Linked DNA regions of Homo sapiens: regions 1, 2, 3 and 5 are each linked to region 4. Evidence: promoter capture Hi-C in 16 types of primary human blood cells and fetal thymus (Javierre and others, 2016). All regions are on one chromosome and are shown on one strand. Each heading gives the region's core, a stretch centred on a gene start or on the middle of the fragment in contact. The rest is flanking DNA. Distances are from core to core; before and after follow the strand shown. Region 1 overlaps LINC00189 (long intergenic non-protein coding RNA 189). Region 2 overlaps BACH1 (BTB domain and CNC homolog 1). Region 3 has its middle 4.9 kb from the start of BACH1. Region 4 holds the start of LTN1 (listerin E3 ubiquitin protein ligase 1). Region 5 overlaps BACH1 (BTB domain and CNC homolog 1).

Region 1 (2,700 bases), core at 31-2,530, 280 kb after region 4:
CTTATAGTTGTACTTTTTAAATGGATGTATTTTTTTTTTTTTTTTGAGACAGAGCTTCGCTCTGTTGCCCAGGCTGCAGTGCAGTGGCACAATCTCAGCTCACTGCAACTTCCACCTACTGAATTCAAGCGATTGTTGTGCCTCAGCCTCCTGAGTAACTGGGACTACATGCATGTGCCACCACACCCAACTAATTTTTGTACTTCTTAGTAGAGATGGGGTTTTGCCATGTTGGCCAGGCTGGTCTCTAACTCTTGGCCTCAAGTGATCTGCCCACCTTGGCCTCTCAAAGTGCTGGGATTATAGGCATGAGCCACAGTGCCTGGCCAAGGAACAGTAGATTAACATGAGATTAAACATGCCACATATTTTTAGGTTATCAATTATACTCAAAGATTCATAATAAAATATATTGACACAAAATAGTTATATATTGGAGTAACAGGCAAAAATAAAAAAGCAACATTTACAATGAAACATGAAACTTCAAATGAATTCTGAAGTTTTTGCCATATCTTCAGACTTGGTGAGGAGATGTGGGAATAGGTATAAGGTGAGACAAACTGCATTTTTATGTTTCTCTATCACTAGGGGTTCCTTCCCAGAAAAGCTTGTTTGAGATGTACTATCACCCTATAGGGAACTATCCTTACATATGTAATATCTTGGAATTGTCTGTTTGCCTATATGTTTTAGATACAATTTTTCTTTTAGTTTAGATTATGTTCTCCAGGACAGGGTTATATTTCTTAATTACTTTTTAGGATAATATAAGGTCATTATAGTTTTTAATTAATAAAAATTAAAAGTCTTGAAAATCTTTTGAAGTTTTAGTGGGGAGGTAAACAGGTGCAGTAACTTTGGAAAACAGATGGATATTCATATACCAGGTGAGTTAGCAGTTTTATTCTTAGGAATATATGAGAAGCTCTTGCACATGTTTAAGACTGGTCACAGCAACACTGTTCCTAAAAGCAAAAACCTGGAAAGAACTCAAATGCACATCAACAGGAGTGTGGATTCAAGAATTGTTGTGTAATCACACAATGAAATATTACATAGCATTCTTACCTAATAAGACACTACAATACCCACAATTGGATAAATCTTACAAATATTAGGTTGGAGCAAAAGTAACTGTGTTGTTTTCTATTAAAAGCAATGACGAAAACCGTAATTACTTTTGCATCAACTTAATATACTATCCAATGGAAAAAAGTTATCAGGACACTATCTATAGCATACTACCTTTACATAATATAAATGCTGGTCCCTGTATATCAATGTGTCACTGAGTTTTGCAGTTTTGGTAGGTCACACAATAGAAATGAAAGGGTTAGTTTAAATATCTAACTTGTAACACAAATAGCTTTTTTTAGGCATATTAAAACTTTTACTAAAAAGAAAAAAGATTTAAACGTGTTAGAATGGATATAGCAAATTATGGATTTTATGTTTTTAGTGAATTTAATAATAAATAAATACAAGTATATAGATTTATGTTTATATATAGGTAAAAATTAAAAGAGCAAAACAATATTTTTGTTGAATTGAACGTAATATAATTTTAAAAACTGATACTCTCCTGATGTAGTACTTAAGCATTAGATTCCAATTAAGGTTCATGGTAGCCAGCCTCCAAGATGGCCCTGAGTGATCCTGAACTCCTCATGTTCATGCCCTTTTGCAGTACCCTCCTACTTGGATTAGGATGGAGTTTTGTAGCTATAGGATATTGTGGAAATAACCATGTGTGACTTCTGAAGCTAGACTGTGAAAAGACAATGCAGCTTCTGTCTTGCTCTGTCTTGGGTCTCTCACTTTTATGGGGAGCCAGTCACTATATCATGAGGATTCTCAAGCAGCCCATGGGGAAGCCCAGAAGAGGAGGATCTGAAGCCTCCTGCTGGGAAACAGCAGCAGGTGAGTGAGCTTTCTTGGGAACAATCCTAAGCTTCGTCCAACCCTTCAGGTGACTGTGGTCCTGGACAGCATCTTGACTACAACCTCATGAGAGACTCTGAGCCAGAACCACTCAGCTAACTGTTCCCAAATTCCTGACCTGCAGAAACTGGGAGTTAATACATATTTATTGCTATTTTGAGCTGTTATGATTTACAGTAATTTATTACACAGCCATAGACTAATACAAAATTAGCTAGTTATGGTTCTTTTATACTTAATGCTTCCAGTGGCTATTTTTTTCATACCAAGCGCCTTAACATTCAACATATTAACAATAAATTATTTCAAAATAACTCGTGCTCTGTTATGTGTCACTTCACATAATATAAATGCTGGTCATAATATATATACATAATATAAATGCTGGACACATCTCAATGTGTCACTGAGTTTTGCAGTTTTAGTAGGTCACACAATAGAAATGAAAGGGTTAGTTTAAATATCTAACCTGTAACACAAATAGCTTTTTTTAGGCATTTTAAAACTTACTAAAAAGAAAAAAGATTTAAACATTGTGTTAGGATGGATATAGCAAATTATGGATTTTATGTTTTTAGTGAATTTTCCTATGGATTTTTCTAGTTTTCCTTTCCCCCATTGATTAAATTAAAACCTCTATATTATCCATGAGTTCCTTAACAGAAGTCCTGGTGCCTGGAAATTATTTATATAATGAATAATAGCTGCCATTTTTGAGCACTTATCGGGGTAGAGGTTGTGCTAAGGCTTTTATAT
Region 2 (2,700 bases), core at 18-2,517, 320 kb after region 4:
ACATGCACATTTGCCCTTGTTCACATGGCTAGACTTGACTTGATGGGTCTTTCCTCCTCATTTTCCTATAGCAGGGTTCTCTCATTTTTTTTAAACACCAAGTCTTCTTTTTATTTTAGATTTCTATAAAATTTAATTTATTCTTTAGTAATTTATTGTGAAGAATCTGCTAAGTTTTAGAGCCCATCAACTTATCATGTAGTGACAAACCAATTATCTGCTGATGACTGTAGGAAATATCTACTCTAAAGGGGGAAAATGTAATTGGCAATCTTTGGGAGATTTCACGACAATCAAAATAATTGTGAACTATCTTTTTAACCAAGGCACATTTTTTGTTTGTTTATAGTTATTTATTCCAACATTTTTCTGATTATAAAGTAGTATGTATTTATGGTTAAGAATTTGAATGCAGAAACAAAAATTACCTAGATCTTACCATGCTAATATTTTAATTATATATCCTAACAAGGCATGGTGATGGTGATGAGGGTGGCAACCAAGATTTCTGGACATACTGAATTGGTGATGCCTATTAGACATACAGGTAGTAATTTGAGTATGCAGTTGGCTATATGAGTATGAAATTCAAGAGAGAAGTCAAGATTGGACCAAATACGAATATGAGAGTGTTCAGCAAGTCAGTGAAGTGATCGTGTCTCCATTGTGGGTCCAGATGTGTTCACCTAGGGAGTGTGTGCAAAGAAGAAACCAGAGGATTGTGGTATCCTGGAAGCCAAGTGAAGACAAGGTTTCAGGAAAGGAATGATCAACTTGTTAACTATTGCTGAGATGCTGTGTAAGAAGACTGAACATTTGCCATTTGGTGATGTGGAAGCTGTTGAGCTTCACTAAATGGTTTCCACGGAGTGGAGGGGAAAAGGCTTGTTTGAGTGGCCTCAAATGAAATTGGGAAGAGAGGGAAGAGACAGTGTGAGTATAAATGGTTCCTTTTGGAAATTCAGTACAGGAGAGCAAAGAATTATAGATCGAGGGGTATAAGGAGGGTCAATAAATTTTAAGAGAGGATCCATTATTCATCAGTTCCATTAAAGGCAAATGCAAAATTTTATTATGTGCGTGGTTTTCTGGTGGAAGTTCAATAGATTTCATCAGATTCTGTAAGGCAGAGAACCAGTGCTCTAGTGATTTGGCAGTTCAACAGCTCATTTTTCTGGAGGATACCCTTAAAATTTTAACTGATTTAAATTAATATTCACCAGTATTAAATAGTATGTGTAACATCGTACCCAAACAAGATGTCTTTCTGTATTTTTTTCTTTCCTTCTCTTAGTTTTGTTAAAATCTTTTTAGTTCAGAATATTCTCTATCAAATGCCTTTTCTATTTGAAGACTCTCCTAAAAAGTTATATTAATACTTGCAACCAAGTGATCAACCATTTACATTTAACTAAATTTTGCTACTTTTGTTTACTATCTATTTAAACATTTTAAGTTTGTGTTTTTAGTCAAAGTAATACTTGTTGGTTTTTGTTTGTTTGTTTTTTTAAGTACAGAGAACAACCTTATCTGCTGCACCTCACCCCCTAATTCTGCTTCAGAGTTATGTGCAATGTTTACTGGTTTCTGCTATTTAATTTTTTTGGTGGATACCTCTGTCTAAAATGTTTACACCTCAGTTTATTTATCAACCTAAGATATTATCTGTTGACTTGGTATTACTGTGGGTGATGATTTCGTTTACTCTACTATCCCCCCACATGTATTTGTAATCTTATTATTCCACTTCTACTGTTGATCACCTCTGCAACTCCAGCTCTAAACACTTTTTTTCTATTTCTTTTTCTTGTCTCATTAATCTGAGGCAGTGCCTTTTGACTCTGCACATTGTAAGTTGTATGGAAATACCATTCCCATTCTTCCTGATTCTGTCTCCCAGCCTGCTTTATTTTGTCAAGGTTAATAATATTTACATTCTATGCTATAGTTATAATTAAGTCTCTCATTATTTGTCTATTCTAAAAGTTGAAAAAAGTCACAGAGATGTAAAGTGACATGCTTAACTGACAGTGGAGTCCTCAAGTTATAAAGTGCTATTAATCTTTTGTGCTGTCCACCCATAGGTATCCCTAGAGCAGCGCTAGCTGCTGTTTGGCAGTTTCTGGAGAAGTCTTTATGTCCTTACTTGTGCTCCCTGATAACAACTCTGTCCTCATCTTCAGCCCCTGATTGTGGGATTTTAGGGGTATCTGAGATGTAAGCATTTAGAAAGTGGTGTAGACAAACCGTGGAAGAGGCTGAGTTGGGAAATTTTACGTGTTGGGGGAATTTTCATTCTTTGCTTTTTTCCCCTCCCCTCTTTCTTGTGGGAGCCTTAACTGGGATAGTAACAATTGCACCCGCCTCTCTGCCCATTAGTTGCTCATCTTAGAAAATCTACAGTTAACATATTTAGTGGCGAAATACTTAACACTTTCCTTATATGGGAATGAGATGAGGATACCCACTGTCACCACTCTCACTATTCGGTCATTGCAATAAGGGAAGAAAAAGAAATAAGCATAAAGACGGGAAAGAAGTAAAATGGTCTCTGTTTGCAGATGACATGATTGTGTGCATAGAAAATCCTATGGAATCCACAAACAGCTATCCGAACTAGTAAGCAAATTAAGGTTGCAGAATTCACGGTTGATATTTAAAACGATAATTTTGTTTTTACACAATAGCAACAAAACAAAA
Region 3 (2,700 bases), core at 22-2,521, 300 kb after region 4:
AGACTGGATTTTTCTGTCTTTTGCAGACGTGTGACTATGGTTGAAGGTGCTGTCTCTGATTCAGTACCAAGCATAAGCATCACTGACTCTGCAGGAAGGCACTGGCACCAAACATTTAGTAACTTTTCCGCAGGCTTGAGGGATTGGTTACATGAAGCTTTGGGCAGTCTTCTGTCACCTTTCTGGCTGGAACTCTACTTTCTTCTCCCCTCACTCCTCCCCAGTTGGGTGCAGAGCAGTCAGGCTACATCCAAGATTCTGAGGGTCTCACTTTCTATCCCCAGACATTTATATGTATGTATATGTGTGTGTATACATATATTTGTGTGTGTGTATATATGGTGATAAATGTATAAATATTATTATAAAACACTTAAACATTTATTATAAACTGTTATGTTAATATAAAAAATATATGTATGTACATATACATATAATACATATAAAAACACCTTGCAGCATTAGCTTATGAGAGAAGAATTTCTCTACTTCATTAAATAAATATATGTAACAGAATGAGAGAAAATCTGTAGCACAATGAATTCTAATGGAGGACAATTTCAAGTGTCATTTTAGGTCTAGGAGCTTGACACAGGTTTAAAATGAAACAGCCTTTTTCAATATTTTCTGTTTTATTTACTGAACTTTCCTCTAAGTCATGATCATTGGGGTTGTGGTTCTTCTTACAAAGTTAACTCCATTTTCATGCTCCATTTTAATCATCTGATATTTTATTTAATCTTGATTTTGGTTATCTATTGCTATATTAAAAAAACTGCAAAATTTCATGACTTTAAACAATAATCATTTTACTATTTCATAATTCTATGTGTTGGCTGGGCTCAGCTGGTAAGTTCTTTTGTATAGACTTGACCAAAGAACATCCTAGATGGCTCATTCACATGACTGGCACTTGATGCTCAGTACTGGCTGGTTGCTCTGCTGGGGCTCCTGAGTGAAGAGGCCACACATGCCCCATGCATGGTGGTTTGGTTCTGAGAGAGGGTGTCCCAAGAGAGCTCATTTGAAGAAAGAGGAAGTAGAGGCTAACAGTCTTCTAAAAGACTAGAACCAGAACTGGCAGAGCATCACTTCTGCAGTGTCTTCTTGGTGATGCAGTCACAGGGCCAGATTCAAGATGATGAAAAATAAACTCCCATTCTTGACGGGGAAAACGATAAAAATTTTGTGGCCATCTTTAGTCCACTGCAACCTCCTACTGGTTTTCAGAAGCGCAATTTTTTTTGGATATTTGGGCCACTTTGGTTGTCATTAAATCTGGTATCTGAGCAGCACCTCTTTCACTGATTTGGCCCCTGTCCCACTGAGTTCTTCTGCTTCAAAACTGGCTATTTCCTTTTCATTTTTCTGCCTTTATCTTAATTTTACACTTTGTAACATTTCAAACCAGAGGCTACACCTCATCTTTGATTTCAGTTATCAGGTAAACATGAGGGTGTGTTTACTCATCTGCTCCAGGAAGTTCTCATTGTCTTCTAATAAAATATGTTCATTTTCCATAAAACTTTCCAACCTGGAGGCAGGGGTGCTATGACTTTAATCCATAGTCACATCTCAGGGTACAGGTGTCAAAGAGCAGTTGTTCAAGTGGGAGACTTGTGTTGATCTGGGTAATCCCCCACCTTTAAAGCCTAGTTGTTTTGCCCCACCCCCCCTCCAATATTTTCTTGACTTAGTGAGTGAATACTTAAAGACAAAAGGAGCTAAGGCAATGAAGATGGAGGGAATGAAGTTCTGGGAAGGCTGGAGGGGTATGCAGATTTGTAGGGGTTACAGATGTCATGCTGCATCTGTGGAAATGAGGATTCAAAACCAAAGGTGGGTAGGGAATAAATGTGGAAGTGTGGATCTTTCCTGAGGTTAGGGAGGAGGACAGGGGACAAGGGTTACACTGACTACACATCAAAGTTTTTTCAGGATATGTATTATGTCTTACTGTCCAAATATTATGCTATGGTGTTCCTTATAGCCATGAACATGTCACCTATCTGTATGATTTAGCTCCCTCATTTTTGAGAGTCAGGCAAGACAACCTGCTATTAGAGGAGAAAATGATGGTGTTTGTATCTAGGTTTTATTAAAAATCATTCCCTAACTATGGCTTATAGTTATTTAAATTGTTTTCAGAGTTAATGATAAGATTTTATTTTGGTAATAAAATCAGTATGATGGCCAGAAAGAAGATATGAATGTTTGGAAAAATTGGAAATATCATTTTTGAAAGAAATGTGACAATGCACATATATAACATCTTGCGAATGGTATTGTATATCACCAAACCTGCTCACAGCAGGAAAACTAGCCATCACTTCTCACAGTCAATGAGAAGTATAAATCAAGGACATAGCAGTAAGCTGTGATACCCAAGCTTCACGGATAAATTCTCCTAAAGAATAATGCACTAAAAACAAAACTACATGACAAAAAAAAGCACTAATTGCAAATCACTGTGAAACAGTAGCACAAAATCTTTATATTGTGCTACTAGTGACAGCAACAGAAGACAGTCAAACGCCTAGGCAGATAGAGGCAGGTCCCCGGTGAAACCCCACCTCCAAGCTGAAGACAGTTTAAAGCCTGAAAGCCAAACTACAAGTTAAATTTTCAGACTAGATTGAGAACTTGTCTTCCTGTTTGGCACGCTTTCCTCTGATCTCCACCCTTCACCTATTTTACGTA
Region 4 (2,700 bases), core at 52-2,551:
ATGTAGGTAAAGAGTATATGGGATGTCGTTCTAATATTCTTGCAACTTTTCCTCATAAGAACTTTTCAAATATAAAACATTTGAGAAAATCTGTTAAATAAAAAACATTAAAAGATGCAAGTAAAGTGCTTAGCACAGTAACACAACAGGTTGCTATAATTGTTAATACTGTTATTATCTTCCAAAACAGATTAAGTGACAGATCTAAGAAAATGTGACATTGAAATCACTAGAATTAACTACATCAGAAACAGGAAAAAAAAGCATTCTCATAAAATTGGACTGTGCTATAATAAATCTAACACCATAAAAAAATACCATTACAAAACCCCTCATCGTGTAGTTTTACACGAATCCACTTTAAGGTCGTCCTTAAGCAAGTACTTAGTGAGCGTCTATTAGGTGCCAGTCTGTTCTAGGTTCCGAGGATAAAAACATTTGCTTTCAAAATACTTACGTCCTAGTGAACCAAGACAATAAATGTCATAAATACAATGGAGTAAAATAAAGTAGGAAGAACATGGGAGTGGGGAAGGGCTACCAAGAGGGTGATCATGGGAGACCTCACTGAGGTGTCGAGAGCAAAGTTTGGAGCCACCTAACTGAAGAGCGTTGGGAGCCGGCCAGGTAGTCAAGGCACAGTGAAGAGATCAGTGTGGCTGGATGAAGTAAGCCAAGAGGAGGGAGCTGAAGATGGGACTGCAGATGGAAAGGGGTAACAGGCAGTCCAGAAACCAAATATACCATCCTAAGAGCTTTAGCTTAGGAGAAGCCACTGTAGGTAGCAAAGGAGAGGCACAATCTGCGGTAACCTCCACAGTGGATTCACTTTAACATTCTCCCAACTCTCCTTCTTCCCAGCGCCGCCCTCCCCCAACCAACCCGCTACCTCGGCCAGATCACCTTCCAGTGAACCTGACACATTATCATTTCTTCATGAATATTATGGGTGTGTGCTCGGATGAGGACAGCTCTGGCATGGTACATCTTTTCTCTCACGATTCCCCAATCTGCTCAGAGATAACACAAACCGCTCTCAGGGACGCACACACAACAGAGAGGTCACACTCGACAGGGAAACACACGCCTCCCTACAGCCGCGCTCCACACACCCTCCAGCAACGCGCTGGGCGGAGCCAGCCGCCTCGAAGCGAGGCTCCCGGGTCGGCCGAGCCAGCCCCCGCTCACCCTCAGGTTCCCTTTAGTTCGCTGCTTGTTCTTCCCGCCCATGGTCGCGGTTGCAGCTGTACTCTGAGCACTCAGACCCCGGTTGACACGTCCGGGACACAACTTCCGGCTTCTGGCGGCGGAAGAGGACACCCTGTAATAACTTCCCCCGGGCCCTTTTCCGCCACCCACCCTGTCCATTTGCTGCCCCACTTCCGCTCCCGCCTCCCGCTGTGTCCCTGACCATCCGCCACCGGAGACGTCACAGCTAAAGCCACGCCTGTCTGAGTGATGTCATTCCTGGCCAATAGGAAGCCAAGCATTGGACCCGTGGCGCCAAATCCTGTCCTCCCCGCTTTCAGAAGCTAGGTTTGTTCCTTGCTTAGAGGGTAGGAAACTGGCGTGAATCATCAGAGGGGCAGTTTCACATAAGGGTAGCATTAGAATGTTATGGTAGAGGCTGTGGGAAGATGGGAGTGTTTTAGACTTCCAACATGATGCAATCATCAGTATCACCTGGGCGTTTTTTAGAAAAGGCCAACTCGGGCCCCTCAGAACTCCTGAATCAGATCCTGCATTTTGACAGTATTCCCAAGTCTTGTTAAAATTTGATTACTGCTGTAGGCACTATTCTCTCTAAATCTCCCCTCCCCGTCCCCTTTTATTCATATTGAAACTGTTAACGTGCAGTTTAGGAAAGAGGATAATGTGGGAGTCCCTATTAAAATTTGAAATGTACAAATCCTGTAACCCATTGATTGTGCGACTCAGAATCACACCAGAGAAACAAGTAAATGTGTGCTGGTTATTGTTTCTTGTCCACGCAGTCACCCTTTTATACTCAACTCCATGTTACTGGGGGGGCTTCTGCTAGATTCCACCAACAGGACGAACAAGAGGGAAACAAAGGCAAGAGGAAGAAGGGACTTGCTCCATTCTGTAAGCATCATGCCAGCAGCAGCTGCATTTTACCGTGGCAGGAGCAATTGCTTTAGCCAAAAGGTGGTTTTAATCTCTATCCTTTTTCCAACAATCACAGAATCAGCCTTATTGCACCCCTCAGAGATCACAGCAGCAGTCAGTGCTCTCCTCAGAGATCTGAATTCTACTTTCATGCGGCCCCTCCCCTGAGCTCCTGAGATAGCCAATGTTTGAGCCACCTCCTCAGAAGTTTGAGCCTCAACACCGTGGGATCCCTTCTTTGTGCTCCAGAGATCCAGTAACAGCCAGCCATCACCCTCTCTTCATTCTTCATAGGCCTGAACTAAGGTGTTCAGGGCCCTCCTTCAAGCTTTTAGGTTCTGATGACTCCAACCACTTCTTTTGTTCCATCCTTTCCTAGCTCTAGGAATGGTAGCTGCTACCTGCAGTGATTACCTGTTACCTTTTATAATTCCTTTTGACCAATTTCCCATATTAAAATATTTCTCAATAACTAATGTGATTTCTGTTTTCCTGACTGGACCCTGATTTTAAAATGCACACAAAAGCCAGGTGCAGTGGCTTATGCCTGTAATCCCACCACTGTGGGAG
Region 5 (2,700 bases), core at 41-2,540, 340 kb after region 4:
ATCAGCCTGGCCAACATGGCGAATCTCCGTCTCTACAAAAATTAGCTGGGTGTGGTGGTGGGTGCCTGTAATCCCAGCTACTCGAGAGGCTGAGGCAGGAGAAGCGCTTGAATGTGGGAGGCGGAGGTTGCAGTGAGCCAGGTTTGCACCACTGCACTCCAGCCTAGGAGACAGAGCAAGACTGTCTCAAAAAATTTTTTAAAAACACTGTGTGATAAATACCAAAAGAGAGAGATGAAGTTTGAAGGACTTCTGTTCATTCGTTTCCAGTAGATATATTAACCATAAAGTAGGTTCACACATTGGCTGTGTTCACACATCGGCCATTTAATTGTTTAAATCAAATGCCATGCTGCAAGACAAAAAAGAATAATGATTCTATGCTCATTATTTGATAACTCCTGGAAAAATGCAGCATATATTCAGTCTTGCTCATTGCCAACAAGAACCTCTAGACCTGGGACATGTCCCTGAGCAGTGGTTTAACAGTGATTAGTTGTAGGAATGTGACTTCTAGTGGAGTAAAGTTTATTGGATCTAGTTTTTCATGGCCATTGATTTTTAAATTTTCCTTTGGCCATTTCAACTATTGATGAATGTCTTAATTTAGCATGAGTTACATGTAGCTGGTATGATATTAATCAAAGCAAGCTTGATTTGTATATTCTGTTTGTATTTGATAGATCCTTTCTGTAAAATATTACTTATAAGTCCAATAATGACAAGGGCCTGTTAGTTCCTTCCAAAAATATATTAATTAAAATATTTTTTCTTTTTTTTGTTTTTATATTTTATGATTTTTTTTGCCTTTCAATAGTTGGCTTTTCTCTTTATAATCACAATTTACATTCTTTTTAAAAATTATTTTTCTATTTTATCCATTGCATTTTTTCCCCTTTCTTGGGCTTTATTTGTTTTTTGTAAGAATACTTAACATGGGATCTACCCTTATAACAAAATTTTAAGTGTACGATACAGTATTGTTAAGTATAAGCACAATATTGTACAGCAGATCTCTATAACTTATTCTTTTATGACTGAAACTTAACCCATCCAATTGCAATTCCCCATTTTTTCCCTCTCCCTAGCCCCTGGCAACCACCATTCTACTCTCTGTTTCTGTGAGTTTGACTGTTCTGTCTACTTCGTATAAGTGAAATCATGTTGGATTTACTCTCCTCTGTGTCTGGCTTATTTCACTTAGCATGATGCCTCCCAAGTTCTCCATATTGTAGGCAAATGGCAGGATTTCCTTCTTTTTATCAGGCTGAATGGTATTCCTTTGTGTATATACACCACGTTTTCTTTATCCGTTCATCCATCCATGGACATTTAGGTTGTTTCCATATCATGGCTATTGTGAATAATGCGGTAACGAATATGGCGGGGAGTACAGACTGGGCACAGTGGCTCATGCCTGTAATCCCAACACCTTGGGAGGCTGAGGTGGGTAGATTGCCTGAGCCCAGGAGTTTGAGATCAGCTTGGGCAACATGGTAAAACCCCATCTCTACAAAAAATACAAAAATTAGCCAGGCATGGTGGCATGTGCCAGTAGTCCCAGCTACTTAGGAAGCTGAGGTGAGAGGATCGCTTGAGCCTAGGAGGTTGAGGCTGCAGTAAGCCATGATTGTGCCACCGTACTCCTGCATGACAGAGACCCTGTCTCCAAAAAAATATGTGTAGATCAGTGCAGATATCCTTTTGAGATTGTATAGAAATTGGGATAGAGGCCTATGTTTTCTTTAATGTAAAATAAGTTCTCTGAAAAACTTAGATGTATACCTTCATCTTCCTAGGTTTGACTATAATTATAAAATACAGCAATAATTAGTAATATTTATTTCATATTCTAGGTAAAACTGCCATTCAATGCACAACGGATAATTTCACTGTCTCGAAATGATTTTCAGTCCTTGTTGAAAATGCACAAGCTTACTCCAGAACAGCTGGATTGTATCCATGATATTCGAAGAAGAAGTAAAAACAGAATTGCTGCACAGCGCTGTCGCAAGAGAAAACTTGACTGTATACAGAATCTTGAATCAGAAATTGAGAAGCTGGTAAGTGTAAAAGTTTCTTGTTACTATTTAAATTCCACCACTTTCTTTTTTGTCAAGGAAATAGTTTTTAAATTTCTAGGTCAGATATAATGCTCAATTACTTATTTTAATATGTATCAATTACCATTTTATCATTTTTACCATGATATGCTGTGATATGTAAGTGCTTTTTAAAAAGAAGGTTTTCAAATTAAGAATGACTTTACTGTCTACCTAATCATTAGTGGTTGTGAATAGATTCAAGAAATTATAAAGCACTTTAGGTTCTCTGTTTTGTGTCTATAGAAGTTAATATTCCAGGTGTTCATTTAAATGAACTGTGGACCTGAATAACTTGTTTTGGTTGATACCAAAACCAGACCAACCAGGATCTTTCATCTAAGGAAAAAAATTCTGATAGATATGGTGATATGAATTGAAAATATTAATATCTAATGGGATCCTAAGTGAGAACAATGCTTGCTTTTGAATCTTTTCTTTTTCTTTTTTGAGATGGAGTCTTGCTTTGTCGCCCAGGCTGGAGTGCAGTGGTGCGATCTCGGCTCACTGCAAGCTCTGCCTGCTGGGTTCATGCCATTCTCCTGCCTCAGCCTCCGGAGTAGCTGGGACTACAGGCGCCTGCCACTGCGCCTGGCTA

What was found. Contacts are between HindIII fragments. The CHiCAGO score rates a contact against its expected background, and 5 or more counts as called.
Region 1: a fragment that was not itself captured here is called in contact with the fragment with the promoter of LTN1 in region 4 in 1 of 17 cell types (neutrophils); the score reaches 5.0 in neutrophils.
Region 2: a contact is called between a fragment that was not itself captured here and the fragment with the promoter of LTN1 in region 4, in 6 of 17 cell types (neutrophils, naive B cells, activated CD4 T cells and 3 more). The highest score is 10.3, in neutrophils.
Region 3: a fragment that was not itself captured here is called in contact with the fragment with the promoter of LTN1 in region 4 in 8 of 17 cell types (naive CD4 T cells, naive CD8 T cells, neutrophils and 5 more); the score reaches 8.0 in naive CD4 T cells.
Region 5: a contact is called between a fragment that was not itself captured here and the fragment with the promoter of LTN1 in region 4, in 5 of 17 cell types (neutrophils, naive CD4 T cells, total CD8 T cells and 2 more). The highest score is 8.0, in neutrophils.

Annotation. Positions count from the first base shown.
Region 1 is chr21:29,272,913-29,275,612 of GRCh38, forward strand. The region is part of intron 1 of LINC00189 (long intergenic non-protein coding RNA 189); the gene reads left to right. Among named protein-coding and RNA genes, the nearest start is that of BACH1, 25 kb to the right of the region's middle. The HindIII fragment of the contact is 1,344 bases long and covers 609-1,952 here.
Region 2 is chr21:29,309,931-29,312,630 of GRCh38, forward strand. The region is part of intron 1 of BACH1 (BTB domain and CNC homolog 1); the gene reads left to right. Among named protein-coding and RNA genes, the nearest start is that of BACH1, 12 kb to the left of the region's middle. The HindIII fragment of the contact is 3,024 bases long and covers 1-2,700 here.
Region 3 is chr21:29,292,685-29,295,384 of GRCh38, forward strand. No RefSeq gene overlaps it. Among named protein-coding and RNA genes, the nearest start is that of BACH1, 4.9 kb to the right of the region's middle. The HindIII fragment of the contact is 2,232 bases long and covers 156-2,387 here.
Region 4 is chr21:28,991,576-28,994,275 of GRCh38, forward strand. LTN1 (listerin E3 ubiquitin protein ligase 1) reads right to left here and starts at 1,302. Exons shown (of 30, transcript NM_015565.3): 1 at 1,189-1,302. The coding sequence starts at 1,230. It overlaps LOC105372766 (a long non-coding RNA gene), which reads left to right and starts at 1,528. Exons shown (of 3, transcript XR_007067835.1): 1 at 1,528-1,556; 2 at 1,995-2,106; 3 at 2,207-2,606. RefSeq lists enhancers at 1,107-1,216, 1,527-1,586. The HindIII fragment of the contact is 7,723 bases long and covers 1-2,456 here.
Region 5 is chr21:29,327,631-29,330,330 of GRCh38, forward strand. It overlaps BACH1 (BTB domain and CNC homolog 1), which reads left to right. Exons shown (of 5, transcript NM_001186.4): 4 at 1,857-2,063. Among named protein-coding and RNA genes, the nearest start is that of BACH1, 30 kb to the left of the region's middle. The HindIII fragment of the contact is 1,283 bases long and covers 650-1,932 here.